Linked DNA regions of Homo sapiens: region 1 is linked to region 2. Evidence: promoter capture Hi-C in human tissues and cell types (Jung and others, 2019). All regions are on one chromosome and are shown on one strand. The core of a region is centred on a gene start or on the middle of the fragment in contact, and the rest is flanking DNA. Distances in the headings are between cores, read along the strand shown.

Evidence for each region. The method cuts DNA at HindIII sites, captures the fragments that hold promoters and counts their contacts. A contact is called where the count stands out against the background at its distance.
Region 1: a fragment that was not itself captured here is called in contact with the fragment with the promoter of PRKAR2A in region 2 in 1 of the 25 tissues and cell types used here (aorta).

Annotation. Positions count from the first base shown.
Region 1 is chr3:48,469,356-48,472,606 of GRCh38, reverse strand. It overlaps SHISA5 (shisa family member 5), which reads left to right. Exons shown (of 6, transcript NM_016479.6): 4 at 2,764-2,879; 5 at 3,034-3,246. Among named protein-coding and RNA genes, the nearest start is that of TREX1, 4.8 kb to the right of the region's middle. RefSeq lists enhancers at 1-57, 2,537-2,686. The HindIII fragment of the contact is 3,683 bases long and covers 1-3,091 here.
Region 2 is chr3:48,846,197-48,849,429 of GRCh38, reverse strand. It overlaps PRKAR2A (protein kinase cAMP-dependent type II regulatory subunit alpha), which reads left to right and starts at 1,556. Exons shown (of 11, transcript NM_004157.4): 1 at 1,556-2,095. The coding sequence starts at 1,834. PRKAR2A-AS1 (PRKAR2A antisense RNA 1) reads right to left here and starts at 1,493. Exons shown (of 3, transcript NR_109997.1): 1 at 1,405-1,493; 2 at 1,022-1,325; 3 at 1-443. RefSeq lists a silencer at 1,414-1,743. The HindIII fragment of the contact is 13,078 bases long and covers 1-3,233 here.

The DNA of each region.
Region 1 (3,251 bases), core at 1-2,500, 380 kb after region 2:
TGGATGTGTTTGATGCAGTTACCAAGCATTTGCCTTTTGTTGGAATAAAGCTTGGGTTGGGCATGGTGGCTGACACCTTTTAAAAAAAACTTATTATTTTTTATTTTTTTGGAGACAGAGTCTCGCTCTGTCACCCAGGCAGGAGTGCAGTGGCGCGATCTCTGCTCACTGCAACCTCCGCCTCATGGGTTCACGTGATTCTTCTGCCTCAGCCTCCCCAGTAGCTGGGACCACAGGCACGTGCCACCACGCCCGGCTAATTCTTTTTTTTTTTGTATTTTAGTAGAGATGGGGTTTCACTATGTTGCCCAGGCTGGTCTCAAATTCCTGACCTCAGGCGATCCGCCTGCCTCGGCCTCCCAAAGTGTTAGGATTACAGGCATGAACCACTGCGCCTGGCCTATTTATTTTATTTTTTAATTTTTTGAGACGGAGTCTCCCACTGTTGCTCAGGCTGGAGTGCAGTGGCACAATCTTAGCTCACTGCAACCTCCCTCCTTGGTTCAAGCGATTCTCCTGCCTCAGCCTCCTGAGTAGCTGGGACTACAGTTTTGCGCCACTACGCCCTGCTAATTTTTGTATTTTTAGTAGAGACAGGGTTTTACCATGTTAGCCAGGGTAGTCTAGAACTCCTGACCTCAAGCGATCCGCCCACTTCGGCCTCTAGAAGTGTTGCCACCGCGCCTGGCCAGTTTTTTATTTTTATTTTTTATTTATTTACTTTTTTGAGATGGAGTTTCGCTTTTGTTGCCTAGGCTGGAGTGCAATGGTGTGATCTTGGCTCACTGCAATCTCTGCCTCCTTGGGTTCAAGAGATTCTCCTGCCTTAGCCTCCCAAGTAGCTGGGATTGCAAGCACCCACCATCATGTCCGGCTAATTTTTTTTATACTTTCTCGAATTCCAGACCTCAGGTGATCCACCTGCCTCGGCCTCCCAAAGTACTGGGATTACAGGTGTGAGCCACCGCACCCAACCGTTTTTTATTTTTTAAAATCTTTTATCATCCAGTACAAAATGTAAGGCTGACTTTTTTTTTTTTTTTTTTTTTTTTGAGACAGAGTCTCACTCTGTCCCCCAGGCTGGAGTGCAGTGGTGCGATCTTGGCTCACTACAACCTCCACCTCCTGGGTTCAAGCGATTCTCCTGCCTCAGCCTCCTGAGTAGTTGGGACTACCGGCTAATTTTTAGTAGAGACGGGGTTTCACCATGTTGACCAAGCTGGTCTCAAACTGCTAACCTTGTGATCCGCCCATCTCGGCCTCCCAAAGTGCTGGGATTACAGGCATGAGCCACCGCACCCTGGCCACGAGACAGTTTTAATCTCAGCACTTTGAGAGGCCGAGGAGGGAAGATTGCTTGAGGCCAGGAGTTGGAAACCAGTTAGGTAACATAGTGAGACCCCTGTCTCTGCAAAAATAAATGTGGTAGTGCATGCCTGTGGTTCCAGCTACTGGGGAGGCTGAGGTGGGAGAATCACTTGAGCCTGGGAGGTGGAGGCTGCAGTGAACTGTGATCATATCACTGCACTCCAGCCTGGGCAACAGAGTGAGACCCTGTCTCAAAAAATAAATTAAAAAAGAAAAAGAATGAAGCTTGGCCTCTGCAAACACGGCAGGGTGGCTAGTAAGGGGCTCTGTCTGCATTTGGAAGTCAGGTTTTTTTTTTTTTCTTTCATTTTTGAGACAGAGTTTTGCTCCTGTCCCCAGGCTGGAGTGCAATGGCGTGATCTTGGCTGAATGCAACCTCTGCCTCTCGGGTTCAAGCGATTCTCCTGCCTCAGCCTCCCAAGTAGCTGGGATTACAGGCACCCGCCACCGTGCCCGACTAATTTTTGTATTTTTAGTAGAGACAGGGTTTCACCATGTTGGCCAGGCTGGTCTCGAACACCTCACCTCAGGTGATCCGCCCTCCTCGGCCTCCCAAAGTGCTGAGATTGCAGGCATGAGCCACTGCCCCCTCCTAGAAGTCAATTTTGGTGAGCTTCCCAGCCCAGGGCCTGCTTTCTCAAAGGGCAGGCCCTCTGGCCTCCTGCCTCCAGGCCTCTGTGTCCTCCCCTTGGCTCTTGGCCCTCTCACCTGTGGAAGTGGCCATGCAGGTCAGAGGTGGGGGACCCAGGGGTGTGTGTGACCCCTGGCACGGTGCTTGGCATACAGCAAGCTTGCAGGCAGAGGCAACTGTCCTTATCACTCAGGGGCCAGCCTCCCTGCCCTGGGGCTGTTGTGGAGTGCAGGGGAACAATGGGGGCCTCCTGTTCTGGCCACACTGGCCTCTGCCCTCCTGGGGCTTCTCTCAGTCTTCACCCTGTGCTTTGTGAGCCATGTTATCTTCACTGTCTGCCTCCTACACTGGACTGTGGGCTCCCAGAGGCCAGGGCTGGCTGTCTTGCCCACTGTTAAGTTTTTTGACTCAAATCACAGTGCCTGGCTTGTGGCATGTGCCCTATACCCATCTGCTGATCAGTTGGTTGTGAGGTGGACAAGATAGATGTATGTGTGTGGCATGGGACTTGAAGAGCTTCCTCCCATGCCTCTGAGGGTGGGACAAGCGGGGGAGACCCAGGGAGAGACAGTTACAGGGACTCACATATACCCCAGTTTACACAAGAGGAAACAGATTGAAACAGGTGCAGGCCACCCGACAAGGAAGTAGCTATAACTGTATTGCCCAGACCCCTTCTGGCAAGAGGGGCATGCCTTGGGAAGGTGTGGATGCTGGTCTGGGGAGGGGCGAGGTGCCCCGGGTCACGTCTAGCTCTTTGGCAGGTTCGGAGCGACCTTGGCCGTTGGCCTGACCATCTTTGTGCTGTCTGTCGTCACTATCATCATCTGCTTCACCTGCTCCTGCTGCTGCCTTTACAAGACGTGCCGCCGACCACGTCGTAAGCGTGCCCACCCTGCCCCACTGTGACCCCCTGGGGTGGTAAGGGAAGCTGACCAGGCCCTGCTTTGGCTAAGCTGGAGGGATGGGTGGCAAGCCTGGCTCTCAAGACCTGGGGAGATGGAGGAGGGTCCTGACTGGAATTCTCTTTGCAGCGGTTGTCACCACCACCACATCCACCACTGTGGTGCATGCCCCTTATCCTCAGCCTCCAAGTGTGCCGCCCAGCTACCCTGGACCAAGCTACCAGGGCTACCACACCATGCCGCCTCAGCCAGGGATGCCAGCAGCACCCTACCCAATGCAGTACCCACCACCTTACCCAGCCCAGCCCATGGGCCCACCGGCCTACCACGAGACCCTGGCTGGTGAG
Region 2 (3,233 bases), core at 307-2,806:
ACCTGGGAGGCAGAGCTTGCAGTGAGCAGAGGTCATGCCATTGCACTCCAGCCTGGGCGACAGAGTGAGACTCCTCTCAAAAAAAAATAGGGGCCTGGCAGAACGGTCGCCCTCATTCCTTCCAGATGCCTTTTGAATGCTCTGCTGGATGGGTGGTTGGCTGAGCCGTGGGGCATCTGAGAACAAGTCAGTAGACCTTCTCCAAGAGTATGCAATAAGGACTGAGCAGGAAAAAAGTTGGAGACTGCCTGTCCCCTCACAAAGTTGATGGTCTAACATTCTTCTCAGGGTCAAGAAACTTGTCCAGGGAGACACTGCTGTTTATAATCACAGGCCTGCTTAGCCTAGAACCTGGGCTGGCCTCTTCATCAGTGGGGATGAGGGCTCCTTGCTCCCAGCTGCTCAGCTCCCAGCAGCATTGAGCTCCTGGGTGTGTGCCAAGCCTGTATGGGAGGTGATAGGGAGGATTTTAATTAATACTGAGTAATTACCAGGCGGTGTTTAAGCATCCCAAATGCCCTCAGGTTCCCAAACCTACAGCTACTCTCTTCCTGGCTAGGCCTGTAAGGAGAGGGGGACTCTGCTCTATGCCCAGTGGGCCTTTGGTTAGCACGTAGGCTGTAGACTGGACATCCCAGGAAGGTCTCCACCTTTTTCAATACCCTTCCAGTTTGGTAGGAGGAGGAGGGCAATTTGGGAAATAGTCTGGCCTCTACAGTTCACCTATACCATCTTCCCAGGGGCAAAGGATAACAATGCCTGTGGTCTGCTCAACTTCATCAAGCAGTGTTGACCTAGGGCCCAGTGTAGAATGTGGGGAGAGGAATGGGCAGACCTAGATCTGGGGACCCTGGTGAAAGTGCTCCAGGAGGAACAGGCACAGAGGTCTTTGCTGCTTTTGGCCTTATTTCCCTTTCTCACTGTACACATTTGGCTGAGTGAACTCTTTCAAATTTATTTTTCTGTCTGTGGCTCTCAAATTATGATCTCATTCAAACGCCTACTTCCTACAAGGCCTTACCCGTTTGACATCTCAGAGACCTGACAGACTCCTGAGTTATTCCACCATTCCACCTGGCAGCCAAGGTGGTCTTGACTCCACCAGGCCTTTGCTCTTGTTGTATGTTCAGATGGCTTTCCTCCAGATCTTCCCCTGGGCGGGTCCTGCTCAGGCCTCGGGGCTAGCTTGAATGTCACGCCGGAAAGTGAGCCCTCTCTTGCCCTTCATCACAGCAGAATCACACTGATGTGCTCGTATGCTTCTGCTTCTCGCTGTGTCTCTGGTGCTTAGTAAGTGCTGGCCAAAAAGAGGCTCTTGGCATCAGCTGAAAGAATAATTTAAAGGTCTTCAGGACCAGGCGAGAGGCACTAATCGGTCCCCTTCATGGGTAGACCGTTCATTACCTAATTCCCTGGATTCCCTCCGTGAGCTGGCATCAGGAACACTCCACTGTCTCGACCCCCCGACAGCCCGAGGGGGCGGGTCATCTAGTGGCGCAAGCGCACTGAGGGCCGGTGCTAAGCGGGGACGCGCACGCCCGCGGTGGCGTGCGTCACAACCAGGACGCCTGCCCCGCCCGTCCAGCTCGCCTGCCCGTCGGTCCCCGCGGCGGCGGCGGCTGCCCAGTGACAGCGGCGGCGGTGCCAGGTCGGCCGTGGTAGCGTAGGGTTGCGCGGCCCGGAAACGCAGAGCCGGCCAAAGAGCGGCGCGACGTGAGCCGGGGCCGTGCGCGAAGAGACCTCGCGGGCGCGGAGCGAAAGGCCGGCGTGAGTGAGCGCGGAGACAGTGGCCGCCGGCGGCCCAACCCGTCTATCCCTTCGGCCGCCGCCGGCATGAGCCACATCCAGATCCCGCCGGGGCTCACGGAGCTGCTGCAGGGCTACACGGTGGAGGTGCTGCGACAGCAGCCGCCTGACCTCGTCGAATTCGCAGTGGAGTACTTCACCCGCCTGCGCGAGGCCCGCGCCCCAGCCTCAGTCCTGCCCGCCGCCACCCCACGCCAGAGCCTGGGCCACCCCCCGCCAGAACCCGGCCCGGACCGTGTCGCCGACGCCAAAGGGGACAGCGAGTCGGAGGAGGACGAGGACTTGGAAGGTAGGCTGTGGGCGGGGCCCTGGGGAGTGGTGCAGGAGGTCTCCAGAGGTCTAGAGGGGTGGCAGGGAGCCAGGTGTCGCGCCGCAGCCAAGCCGACCGCAGGCTGGGATTGGGAGCTCTGTAGCCGCGTTTCTAGCGTTTCCCTGAGACACCGGCGTGAGCCCGCGTGCGCCACTTCCAAATTGAGCTCCGCGATCCTGCGAGCCCTAGAGCGCACCGAGTGATTTGTCAGATCCAGCCTTGAAGGAAACGTGCGCGCTGTCGGCCCTGCTAGAGGATCCCTCGCCTTTGCTTAAGACCCTTCACCAGTTTTGGCTTCGAAGACAACAGCGTTCTCATCCAGTGACTTGTGTTTAATTGATAGGACAGTAAGTTTGTTTGGAAATAATAATTTTTTTTGAAAAGTTACTGTGAAAACTTTTAAGCATAGACAAAAGAGGAAAGGTGAGATGAATCCCTATATGCCATCACCTACATTTAACAGTTGCGTTTGTCACAAAGTTTCATCCATACCTTTTTTCTTTCTTTGCCGAAGTGTATTAAAGCAAATCTCTCAGGTCATTTCACCTCTGCTTACTTGAGTTTGTATTTCTTCAAACATGGTCCCTGGGAATATTCCTATTTTTAAAAACTTGGCCAAAACGATTGAATCAAATTTGGTGAGAGTAAATAATTATCTTGCCGGCCGGGGCAGTGGGCCCCTATAGTCTATACCAGCTACTCTGGAGGCTGAGGAGGAAATATCGCTTGAATCCAAGAGTTCGAGACCAGCCTGGGCAAAATAGACACCCTACCTCATTTTTGAAAACGAAAAACCTGGCCGGGCGTGGTGGGTCACGCCTGTAGTCCCAGCACTTTGGGAGGCCGAGGCGGGTGGATCACCTGAGGTCAGGAGTTCGAGACCAGCCTGGCCAACATGGCGAAACCCCGTCTCTACTAAAAATACAAAAATTAGCCGGGCGTGGTGGCGGGCGTCTGTAGTCCCAGCTACTTGGGAGGCTGAGGCAGGGAGAATCGCTTGAACCTGGGAGGCGGAGGTTGCAGTGAGCCAAGATCATGCCACTGCACTCCAGCCTGGGCGACAGAGCGAACTCCGTCTCAAAAAAAAAAAAAAAGAAAAAGGAAAAACCCAGTAACT